Regions from separate parts of the Homo sapiens genome. Here all the other regions are linked to region 1. Evidence: promoter capture Hi-C in 16 types of primary human blood cells and fetal thymus (Javierre and others, 2016). All regions are on one chromosome and are shown on one strand. Each heading gives the region's core, a stretch centred on a gene start or on the middle of the fragment in contact. The rest is flanking DNA. Distances are from core to core; before and after follow the strand shown. Region 1 holds the start of LINC01386 (long intergenic non-protein coding RNA 1386). Region 2 overlaps LOC124901002 (a long non-coding RNA gene). Region 3 overlaps LOC124901002 (a long non-coding RNA gene).

Region 1 (4,030 bases), core at 1,066-3,565:
TGCAATTACCCACTCTCAGCTCACTGCAACCTCCATCTCCCAGGTCCAAATGATTCTCCTGCCTCAGCCTCCTGAGTAGCTGGGATTACAAGCATGCACCACCACGCCCAGCTAATTTTATATTTTGAGTAGAGATGGGGTTTCTCCATGTTGGTCAGGCTGGTCTCGAACTCCTGGCCTCAGGTGATCCACCTGCCTGGGCCTCCCAAAGTGCTGGGATTACAGGCGTGAGCCACCATGCCCTGCCTGTAGTTAGTTTCTTAAAAATCACTCAAGGCTGGCCAGGTGTGGTGGCTCACACCTGTAATCCCAGCACTTTGGGAGGCTGAGGTGGGCGGATCATGAAGTCAGGAGATTGAGACCATCCTGGCCAACGTGGTGAAACCCCATCTCTACTAAAATACAAAAAATTAGCTGGGCGTGGTGGCACGCACCTGTAGTACCAGCTACTCGGGAGGCTGAGGCAGGAGAATCTCTTGAACCTGGGAGTTGGAGGTTGCCGTGAGCCAAGATCTCACCACTGTACTCTAGCCTGGCAACAGAGCAAGACTCTGTCCCAAAAAAAAAAAAAAAAAAGAAAAAGAAAGAAAAAAATCAGGCAGGTGGATCACGAGGTCAGAGGGTGAGACCATCCTGCCCAACATGGTGAAACTCCATCTCTACTAAAAATACAAAAACTAGCTGGGTGTGGTGGCGTGCACCTGTAGTCCCAGCTACTCGGGAGGCTGAGGCAGGAGAATCATTTGAACCTCAGAGGGGGAGGTTGCAGTGAGCCGAGATCATGCCACTGCACTCCAGCCTGGGTGACAGGGAAAGACTCCATCTAAAAAAAAAAAAAAAAAAAAAAATTCAAAACTGGTACTTTTCTAGCAAAAGCAACAGTTGAAAATAACTGATTTTCTAAACATGAATGTTTAACTTTTGCTTCATATGAAAAAATAACTTTTTTTTTTTTAAGAGGCAGAGTAGCTCGAGTGTAGTGGTATAATCATAGCTCACTACAGCCTCAAACTCCTGGGCTCAAGTGATCTTCTTGCCTCAGCCTCCCAAGCAGCTAGGAATACAGGCTTGAACCACCACACCTGGCCAATTTTTCTATTTTTTGTAGAGTTGGGGGTCTCGCTATGTTGCGTATGCTGGTCTTGAATTCCTGGCCTCAAGCAATCCTTGTGCTTTGGCCTCCCAAAGTGTTGAGATTACAGGCATGAGCCACTAGGCCCAGCTGAGAAAATAACTAGACAGTCATTATTTATTCCGATATTGTTGATATTTTTTCTTTTCAGCACTTGACATATTTATTGATAGTTGAATAACTTTTGTAGGATTAAATAGTAAAATATATATCATTTTAATTTAATTCTCAAAGCTCAAGTCACACACAAAAATACTGAGGATCAAATATAGACAATATACTCAAGGCAGCCGATAACAGCCAATAGGCACAAAAAGGCCACCTCTAATGGACTGAGCAATCAATTGAGAAGTCCCCCAGTCACAGCCATCTACTCACCATAGTTTTGGTACCAATCTAGAATACATTTTGTGTATCTGCTATGTCAATACCAACCCCACTGAGTTGGGAGTCCTTGAGGGGCAGGCACTCTTTTGATCACCAAGCTGGTTTCTTTGTTTGGATCCCTGCAATCTGTTGTTGAAATGAGGTGTCCAGATTTGAATATAGTATTCTGACACAAAGTGGAGAAAAAGGTTATCTCTTCCCCTTTTTTAGACAGCATTTATCTAGTAACACAGTCTAAGATTGCATGGGGTGAGGAGTAGCCTGAATGGCTCTCTAAAGTCTGTTAGTAGTGGGCCAGGTGTGGTGGCTCTCACCTGTAATCCTAGCACTTTGGGAGGCTGAGGCCAGAGGATCACTTGAAGCCAGGAGTTCATGATCAACCTGGGCAACACAGTGAGACCCCTTCTCTACAAAAAATTTAAAAATTATCCAGATTTGGTGGTGCATGGCTGTAGTCCCAGCTACTAGGGAGGCTGAGGTGGGAAGAGTGCTTGAGCTTGAGAGATCAAGGCTGGGAGTGAGCCATGATTGCACCACTGCACTCCAGCCTGGGTAATAGAGCAAGACCCTGTCTCAAAAAGAAAAAAAAAAAGGTCTATGCATAGTGAACTGAAATCCCTAAGCCTTTCCTTACATATCCTGCTGTTATGATGAATTGTTCCTGGAACATAGGTGTGACTGGCATTCATACTTGTTACATTTCATTATTAGAATCTCCCCATTATTCTGTCATGTTGAGATATTTAAAGATTCTGATTCTATCATCCAATATATTTATTCATTCATGTATTTATACTTGCTTTTCTAAAGATATTTTCATAAAAGTTAATAAGAACAGAAACAAAAAAATCAGTATGAGGAAAAGAAGCAAAATTTCCAGTTCCTAGAGGTAACATATGTGCTGAGTTTGGGCATGTGAAGTGTAAATCTAAGCTTTACCTTAAAAGGGAGGATTATATTCTTCTTTATGCATCTTCCATTGCCGGGAGAGAATGGGTCTAAACAGGTTGTCTTGGGAGTTATACATATTTACTTTTTCAAAATAAAATACACTTGGCACCTGAGATTTAACCACTTAATATATATCAGCATACACTGTAAATTGTAAATATAACTGGAAAAACAGAATTTTGTAAAAATGCAAAATATGGTCTTTTTCATGCCCATAATACAATAAAGCATTTTATCATTTTGACCATATTAACTTATGTTAACAGTATGACATCAAACACGGAGTCAATGAGCAGCACAATTTTGGGGGAAAAAAGATCTTACTACTGATATTCTCTATAATAAAGGGAAGAGAGTGTTTTTGACTTGAATTTTTTGGACATTTGGCCGAATCCTTTACTCAGTGAGAATTGACTTGGCTTATGAGAGTTAATTCATACCATTTGGAGGCTGAAGCAGTTATAAAGCTGCTTTGGAATGTCCTAAATTGGGCCTAAGAGACCTGTTTTTGACAGATGCGCTCATGTAGTCCAGTCAATTGGCATATGGAATTTTAATGTACAAGCTAGTGCAAAAGTTTCTACATGTAACATTTATTAGTGCTCCTAGTGGCATGGAGAGACAGATGGTACACACATTACATGCAGAAGCGAGCTTTGCAATTGGCCTTACAGGCCCAATTTTGCTCAGTTACCTAGGTCCCTTAACTGCACCCCCATACTCCCCACCCCCACACACGTGTGAGAGCCCAAATGCCCAACCCTTCCATCTCTCCTGCCCCAGAGTCCACTATGGGAACCTCCCTTTCCTTCCAATTGCTTGACTTGAGATCTCCCTTCTTTCTTGCCCTTTCTTTGGCCCAGATCCTCACCTCCTCTGGATTTTCACATCCTCCAGCTGGTCCAGCATGAGCTCTGGAGGCTAAGGTAGGGAAGAACATTGCCTTACAGCTGTTCTCAGTCCCCACCCACCCCTAATATTAGTCTTGGCAACATTCATCCCATTTCCTCACATTTATCCCAGACTCCTCTCCTGACATCTCAGCTCTAGAAATGAAATGCTCAGGTCTACAAGAGCTGCAGAGAGATCTTCTGTCCCAGATAGTCCCAAAGAAAACTCAGGGGTGGGGAAAATGTCTTCCTTCCTTCTCTGTAATATCTAAATGAAATAGCAAAAGAGGGGAGTGCTGGGTGGAGCCTTTTTGCCTTTTCAGTCCCTGCCCCCTTCTCTGTTGTTACTGGCAATACAGACCCTTAGAAGCTAAAAAAAAAACCTTAAGGATGTGTGTGTGTTTTTAAAAGGTATGTCTGGGGAGGCGGAATGCTGAGTCTGAATTCTCTTCTTCACTGGCCCAAAGAGGAGAGAAATTCTGTTCAGAAGTTACTAAGGGCCAGCTGCTGTGGCTCAAGCCTGTAATACTAACACTTTGATAGGCTGAGATGGGCAGATCCTTGAGCCTAGGAGTTGGAGGCCAGCCTGGGCAATATGGCGACACCCCACCTCTACCAAAAAATACAAAAATTAGCCGAGCATGGTAGCATGTACATGTAATCCCAGCAA
Region 2 (4,030 bases), core at 885-3,384, 250 kb after region 1:
TTACACAGAACAGAAGCTTTCATTTCACCCTTCAAATTCCAGCCAAACAGGATTGGGGACTTTTCTATGTTCCAGACTCCCTGAATGTTTTTCCAGGTTGTGTGGTTGAGTTCCAGCCTACAGCAGCTCAACCAGAATCACCACATTATTAGGCACAGAAATGAGATCTATGTCCTCATATTTTTTATTGTGTCCACATTGTGAAACAAAGGCATTTTAAAGATGCAGCTACTGGGACATTAATGAGACAATGCATGTCTATGTGATGAAATAGCAATTTGGAGATGGGTTTTACATGTCAGAAAGAAATATTGTTTTATTTGTAGTCCTTTACTTGCAACTGTCTTCACAGTTGTTTATTTTTTCTAAATAATATTTTTATGAAGACAAAAATTAATCAAGAAGCCATTCAAGATCATTTTTCCAGACACCACATGAATGAAGCTAACTTCTTTCCATTAGGACAGGCATAGATTTTCCTCTAACTTTAAAATAAATGACTGCTATTTACACTGGTAGAGAGACCACTCCGAAAGCTGTTTTCCTCTACTGTTAATGAAAAGTATACTATATTTCCCCCAAATGAAACTTAGAATTATTTAACTGGACTGCCAGGTGTATCACTATTAATAGTGTTTAAGTACATTTTGGGAGAGGTGGAAGGGCTCCTCTGCTACACCCTAGATGTACTCGATACATAGAGTTATACTCTCAAGATGCTTATAACTTACCACAAATACAATTCAGGACATACGTTGTGAGACAAAAAGCAAAGGCATTTGCATGATCAGAGTTAGGACAGAGAATGGACTAAAAACATATCTCCTTGGTGCTAAATTCATTCATAGCTGGTAAGATAATTAAGGACATTTTTTTCCACATAAATTTAGTCACATATGTTTGAAGCTTTGTGCAACTGTGGCATGTACCGATACTTCTGCAGAAACCCCTCTAAAGCACCCAAGGAGCCTGAAATATTAAGGTAGCCCCCACATCTCCCTTCTTTTACAGGACATGCTTGTGAAGAATAGCGGAAAATACAACGTACTGAGTTAGACAAATATTTAACTTGTTCCACGTCCAAGGTAAATCAGATTTCAGGCCAACATATGGGCTCCAGTTCAGGGCCCGAGGCCCAGGCCTCAGGTTAGGCCTGGGAGTAAATGATGTGTATGGTCATTGTCAGAGACTCTGGCTGGGCCAGGCAGACTTGGGTCACCCACCTTCCCACGGACCATGGAGGGACTGAGCTTTGCCTTACGCAAGAACCCATCACAGTGTAGAGCTCTCTGAGGTAGGCCCTGCATGGCTGGTCTAGAATCCGAAGTTAACCTCTTACTTGTCTGAGTTCCTTTAGGGCAGGCACTATTATTTATTAGCTTGAGGTTCCTTACATTCAGCACTATGTCTGGTACATGGTAAGCACTTGATATGTCTGATAAATCACATCAATCATTTAGGTTGCTGGTGAAGAAGACCACTTAGTTAGGGTCTTTGGATCTTCAGATGGCTTCAGACCATCTAGATGTGTTCTGTACTACAGTGGCCTCTAGCCACAGGTGGCAATTGATGCTTGAAATGTATCTAGTCCAAATTGATGCAGGCCGTAAGTGTAAAATACATTCTGGACTTTGTAGGTTGTCTTAGTAAGTCTAGGCTGCTATAACAAATTACCACAGACTGGGTTGCTTCAGCAACATTGATTTCTCACAGTTCTGGAAGCTGAAAGTTCAAGATTAGGGTGCCAGAATGGTTGGGTTCTTGTTGAGGACCCTCTTCCTGTTTACATCCCCACATGGCCTTTCCCTGGTGCTTGCAAGAGGGGTGGTGTGGGGGTGGGCTCAAGGAGGGAGAGATATATCATGTCTCTTCCTTTTCTTGTAAGGGCATTAATCCTATTATGGGAACTCCATCCTTCTGACTTCATCTAAACCTAGTTACCATCCAAAGGTTTCACTTTCTAATATCATGACATTGGGGATTAGGGCTTCAACATAGTAATTTTGGGGGCAGTGCAAGCATTCAGTCCACAGCAAGGAGATTATAAAATCGGAATGCAAAAGTCTCATTAATAATTTTATATTAGTTATATATTGAATGATACTTTGGGTATATTGGGTTAGATAAAATATGTTTGTGGAAGCCAACAAAAAATAAACAATGGGGGAAAGGACACACTATTCAATAAATAATGGCTGGGAGTATGCTGAAGAATGAAACTGGACCCCTATCTCTCACCATATACAAAAATTAACTGAAGATAAATTAGAGACTTAAATGTAAGACATCAAACTATAAAAATCCTATTAAAAACCTGGAAAAACTCTTCTGGACATTGGCTTAGGCAAATATTTTATTGGTAAGACCTCAAAAGCAAATGCAACAGAAACAAAAATAGACAAATGGGACTAAATTAAACTAAACAGCTTCTGCACAGCAAAAGAATCAATCAACAGACAACCTATAGAATGGGAGAATGTATTTCCAAATTATGCATCTAACAAAGGATGAATATCTAGAATCTATAAGGAACTAAAATGAATCAACAAGAAAAAAATAACCCTATTACAAAATAAGCAAAGGACATGAAAAGACACTTTTCAAAAGAAGACATACAAGCAGCCAGCAAACATATGAAAAAATACTCAACATCATTAATCATCAGAGAAATACAAATTAAAACCACAGTGAAATACCACCTCATATCAGTCAGAATGACTATTATTAAAAAATCAAAAACTAACAGATGTTGGCTGGCAAGGCTGCAGAGAAAAGTGAACACTTATACACTGTTGGTGGGCATGTAAATCAATAAAACCTCTATGGAAAATAGTGTGGAGACTTCTCAAAGAACTAAAAGTAGAGCTACCATTCAACCCAGCAATCTTATTACTGTGTATCTACCCAAAGGAAAAGAAATTGTTATACGAAAGTGACACCTGCACTTGTATGTTATTGCAGCATTATTCACGAGAGCAAAGTCATGGAATCAACCTAAGTGTCTACCAACAGTTGACCGGATAAAGAAAATGTGGTACTTAAACACCACAGAATACCATGCAGCCATAAAAAACAATGAAATCATGTTCTTCACAGCAACATGGAGGGAGTTGGAGACAATTATCCTAAGTGAAACAACTCAGAATCAGAAAATCAAATACCACATGTTCTCATTCATAAGTGGAAGTTAAGCAATGAGTATGCATGGATCTAAAAATGGAAGTAATAGACACTGGGGACTCTAAAGGTGTGGGGGGATGAAGGCTGAAGAACTACCTATTGGGTAGTTTACTATTTTGGTGATGGTTCACTAGAAGCCAAAACACTTCAGCATTATGCAATATACCCATGTAACAAGCTTGCACATGTATCACCTCTGTCTAAAATTTTGTTAAATGTATATAAATAGACATTAATGTATGTACACACATATTTGTGGTAGGTAGCCTCTAAGATGGCCCCTGCTGAGCTCAGCCTCCCAGTAGTCATGCCCATATGTAATTCCCTCCCCTAGGCTCTAGGCTAGGCTTAGTATTTCAATACTAACAAATGACTATGACAGAAGTGATGGGCTGCAGCTTCCAAGCTGAGATTACAAAAAGACTGCGGCTTCTATCTTGGGTGCTCCCTCTCTCACTCATTAGCTTGCGCCACCTCTATCTCTCTTTCTATCTCAAAGCCATCGTGCATTGCTGACCCAACACAATGGTAAAATATTAAATGTGTGTTTTAAGCTACAATTTTGGGACAATTTGTTATGCACAATAAATAATAAATTCACTATTACAAAAATTAATTTCACCAGTTTCTTTACACTTTTTAAGATATGGCTACTGGAACATTTTGATTACATGTGTGGCTCCCATTATATTTCTACTGGACAGCACTGGTCTGTCTCTGTGACTCAGATGGGACAACACTGATCCAGATTTAATTTGGGATTCTAAGGAGCTGGACTCAAATGTATGTTATTTAAAAACATGAAATATTTAGGTATAAATCTAACAAAATATGTTCTAATCTATAATCC
Region 3 (4,030 bases), core at 967-3,466, 220 kb after region 1:
CTTTCAGTTTTTGGCTAAAGTATATAGAATGCTCAAGGCAAAGAAGTACCATCAAAATACTGTTTTTTGGTTGCAGCACTATCAGTGGACGGTTTTGAAGATGTATACTTGTGCAGTGCTATTAGCTATTTCAGCTTAGTGTTCCCAAAGAGCCATGCCAATTTACTGTGTTACTCATCTTCTTCAGCTCAGCCCCATGATGAAACAGTCAAACATCCTCCACAGGGTCTTTCTACCATCATAGACAGATGAATGTTTAGAGACCTACTTAAATGACTTTGCAACCTACTCTCTAGCTTTATTTCCCTAACTTCCCTTAAGATATGAATTACCTGGGGTACCTTGTCAACCACAAGTTGCCAAGCTTCAACCATAATCCGCTGAAACAGCATTATCTGGAAGAGAGGTGTGGTGATCTACACCTTTAACAAATGCTCCAGGTCATACTTATGGTCAGGGTTCAAACTTGTCTATGCCCCAGTTTAGTGCTTTCATAGTCCAGTAGTTCAGTTGTTGTTGTTGTGGGATGGAGCTGGGACATGGATGAGTTTTCAGAGTTCCTCAGGTGATTCTAAGAAGCAGTCAGGGGCCACTGTGGCATACAGCACTTTGTCATGTTCCCCTTGTGGGCTTTGCAGTCAGACTATCTGTGTTTAAATCCGGCTCTGCTATTGCTTGCTACCTGTGCAACTCCAGGCAATTTCTCTAACTTTTCTAAGCCTCAGTTTCCTCAGTTCTAAAATAGGAACCACAATATGACCTGCCTCCTAAGATTATTTTGAGGATTAGAGAGCTAATTGTGTAAAATAGGCTGGCATGTTGCGAGCACTCGGTAGATTTTTTGCTGTCATTATTAATTTCACACATGCCTCTGTGTTAAGAACTGGGGTCACGAAGATGAGTAAGATGCAGCTCCTGGGCCCTGAGAGAGTTTGCCATCTCTCGGGAGAGAAAGACCAATGCAAACTCATGTCTAATCCAGGCTGTAGGAGCAATAGGAACAAACTGTTCTGAGCTTAGTAGAGATGGTGAGTTGTCTCCAGTGGGAAAAAGTGGAACTAGGGACATGAAAGGCAGGTGACTTTTGAGCTGAAGCTTGAAGAATGGCAGGTGGACAAACCCTGTAGGGGGAACAAACTGCAAGCAGAGGGAGTTCATGGTGTCACCAACAGACAGTATTTCAGAGTGGCTGTGTTTAGTGTTTGCGAAATGAGCCTTAAAGGCAGATTGGGATCAAATTCTGAAGACCTATGAAGGCAATATGGAGGGTTTTAGTCATGTGACAATGGGGGCCAACCACCAGAAGGTTGGTAAGTGAGACAATTGGATCTCTAACTTAGAGCAATAATCCTGACAGTAGCATGCAAGACAGGGATGCAGAATGGAGATGCGGGACACAGGGGTGAAGACTGGACCAGACATTTCATTCATTCATTCATTCAGCAAATACTTTTTAGGCACCTACTAATGACAGACAGTTGATGCTGAGCTGCAAGAGCGAACAGGACAAAGTCACTGCCCACATAGTTAGAAGGCAGTTGCAATAGACCAGGTGAGTGAGTAGGAAGCCTGAGCAGACCAGCAGCCGCAGGACAGGAGAGGAGAGGTGGAACAGGAGAGAGATCATGCAGGTCCAACCAACAGACATGGGGACAAATATCCAGATAAGACTAATACCTCAGGCAAAGAGGAAAATTGTATGGGACCGCAGGCACCAAAGGGGTGTGTATCGGAGAGACCACATGTGCCAACCACTCTGCCTTCTCTCACTTCTCTCAATCTCTTGGTGTCTCCAAGCTCCTTCCTGTGAAAGGGTCTTTGTGCATGTCATTTCTTCTATTTTTAAATTTGTTCATGATTGGCTCTTTCTCATCCTCGAGAGGCCTTTCTTGACCAACCCATCTAAGTAGGATTCTCATTGACCCCTACCATCACAAACTGTCCTGCTTATACTTTTCATAGTGTCCATTTGTGAGTGTACTCCCTTCCCACCAATATAAGTCCATGCAAGTAAGAGATATGCCATTAGCTCATTGCCGTATCCCTGGCACCTTGCACAGTATCTAGCCATAGCAGGCAGCCAGTAAATATGTATCGAATAAATAAAACTCTATTTCAGGCATCACTTGTCTAAAGCAGAGGAGGAGACTGCCCTGCTGGAGTGTGACATTCAAGACTTGGGCCCATGACTTGGCAGTGGCATGTTGAGGACGTTGAACCCTGATCTGGGCAGAACGTACTGATTGGCCCACAAGATTGCAGGTGAAAGAGACACATGGAAAATGCTAACAGAAAATGACAAATTGCGAGTTGGGCATTTATAAACCATAAAACATAAGGAAAAGTGTGCTGTATACTCATTTCCTCCATCCTGCCTATTCCTCCATGTATCCCTATGTTGCCCCATAGACCTCTGAAGTCTGGGTGACTTGGTAGTGATACCGAAGAGGTGGGGAACTATTTGGTAGCCTGTATTTGCCATTTGGTGTATGGAGTTGTCTTAGTCTGGAATCACTTGGGTTGTAAGTGAGAGAAACCCACCTAGAGAGCTGAATACAATGGATAACAAGCAATCTCACAGGCATCCAGGGCCAGAAAGCCAGTGACATCTGGCTACAGGGACCTGAACTGGGGCTCTTTCTCTGTTCTCCCATTTCTCTGCACAGAGCAGTTTCTCCTGCTTCCCGTGGTCTACCCCTCATGACTTCAACTTGCTTATGGACTGACTCCAACCCTGACTCTGTATGACCTTTATTTGGTCCATCACCATCCATCAGCCGGCTGACTCAGTCTCTCTTTCTCCAAACATAAATGCTCTGGGGAGGAAGATTAGCTCAGCTGGTCTATAAATGGGCTCCCCCCTGGGGCAGGTGTTTGTTCTTGGTCCAATCATCTCAGGCCAGATCTCTGAGTAAAAGAGGCAGCTGGGACTGGGGACAGGGAAGTTAAGGGAAGTAGACCAAATAAAACAAAATTCCCTTGAATGTAACTTTTGCACTACCCCACCGCTAGTTGTACAGTTTAAAGAGCCTCAATGATGTGAGAGGGAGAGAGTCAAAATAGCATTACCATCATTTAACAACAGTTTCTAATATTACCCAGACCTTAATAAGACCAATGAAGTCTTAGTTAAAAATAGTAACTAAAGTTTACTAAAGCAATATAATATTCTCTGTTATTTAAGCAAATCCCATTCAAACCTTCTAGAGCTTCTTTAAGATTATTTATCCTAAAATAGCTTTAAACTCCCTGAATGACTCAAATGGAACAGATCAAGTAGCATTTCATGTGCCTTAAATATGACATGAATTCTAAGTGATTCTTATGTTTAAGCTTTTTAAGTGAAATATATTGCATGTTATATGCGTTTGTTCAGTATGCATGTAGATCATACAGTTTTGTAGAGTTAACCAAAACTCTAATGATGAATTGTAGTCCAGAGTTTCTATAAGTCTGCTTCTTAAAAATTGCCTTGGAAAAGAATGGCTGAAGTCACCTATTAAATTAAATCATAAAGATACCACAGAGTTCAATTAAGATACAAAGTTTAGGGATATCATAATTTCTGCTCCCTTAACGATACACCCACAAGAAAAATAAAACATTACTGAGGTGGATAGTTTGTCTGGAAGACTAGAAGTTACAATGTTAATATAGTTTGCCTGACCCAAAGTGAAACCCGGTTCTCATGCACTTCCATGAGCATGAACGGTGATGGAATGTCCTGAACAGCAAATGGCACTCTCATCACTAATCAAGTCCTGGAATCTCACCATCAATAGCCATTCTACCATCTTGAAACAGATCCTACTAGTAACCCAATGCTCCTGGAAGAAGGAAGTAAATTAAGCAGAGAGAACAGCGTGGCTGGAGTTACACAGGAGGTTTGAATCTCAGCTTTGCTGATTGCTGGTTGTATTCTCGAATAAGCTACTTAACTCTAGTTTTCTTATTTGTAAAATGGGATAACAATATCCACCCCGTAGGTTTGTGGTGATTGAAAGGAATTTTATATATTAAAAAGCACCTG

The links. Contacts are between HindIII fragments. The CHiCAGO score rates a contact against its expected background, and 5 or more counts as called.
Region 2: a contact is called between a fragment that was not itself captured here and the fragment with the promoter of LINC01386 in region 1, in 1 of 17 cell types (endothelial precursors). The highest score is 5.7, in endothelial precursors.
Region 3: a fragment that was not itself captured here is called in contact with the fragment with the promoter of LINC01386 in region 1 in 1 of 17 cell types (endothelial precursors); the score reaches 5.8 in endothelial precursors.

Annotation. Positions count from the first base shown.
Region 1 is chr5:73,471,251-73,475,280 of GRCh38, reverse strand. LINC01386 (long intergenic non-protein coding RNA 1386) reads left to right here and starts at 2,315. Exons shown (of 5, transcript NR_126410.1): 1 at 2,315-2,408; 2 at 3,334-3,396. The HindIII fragment of the contact is 6,957 bases long and covers 1-2,454 here.
Region 2 is chr5:73,225,415-73,229,444 of GRCh38, reverse strand. The region is part of intron 1 of LOC124901002 (a long non-coding RNA gene); the gene reads right to left. Among named protein-coding and RNA genes, the nearest start is that of TMEM174, 54 kb to the right of the region's middle. The HindIII fragment of the contact is 2,452 bases long and covers 909-3,360 here.
Region 3 is chr5:73,249,606-73,253,635 of GRCh38, reverse strand. The region is part of intron 1 of LOC124901002 (a long non-coding RNA gene); the gene reads right to left. All of the region lies in intron 1 of LOC105379031 (a long non-coding RNA gene), which reads left to right. Among named protein-coding and RNA genes, the nearest start is that of TMEM174, 78 kb to the right of the region's middle. The HindIII fragment of the contact is 2,238 bases long and covers 1,098-3,335 here.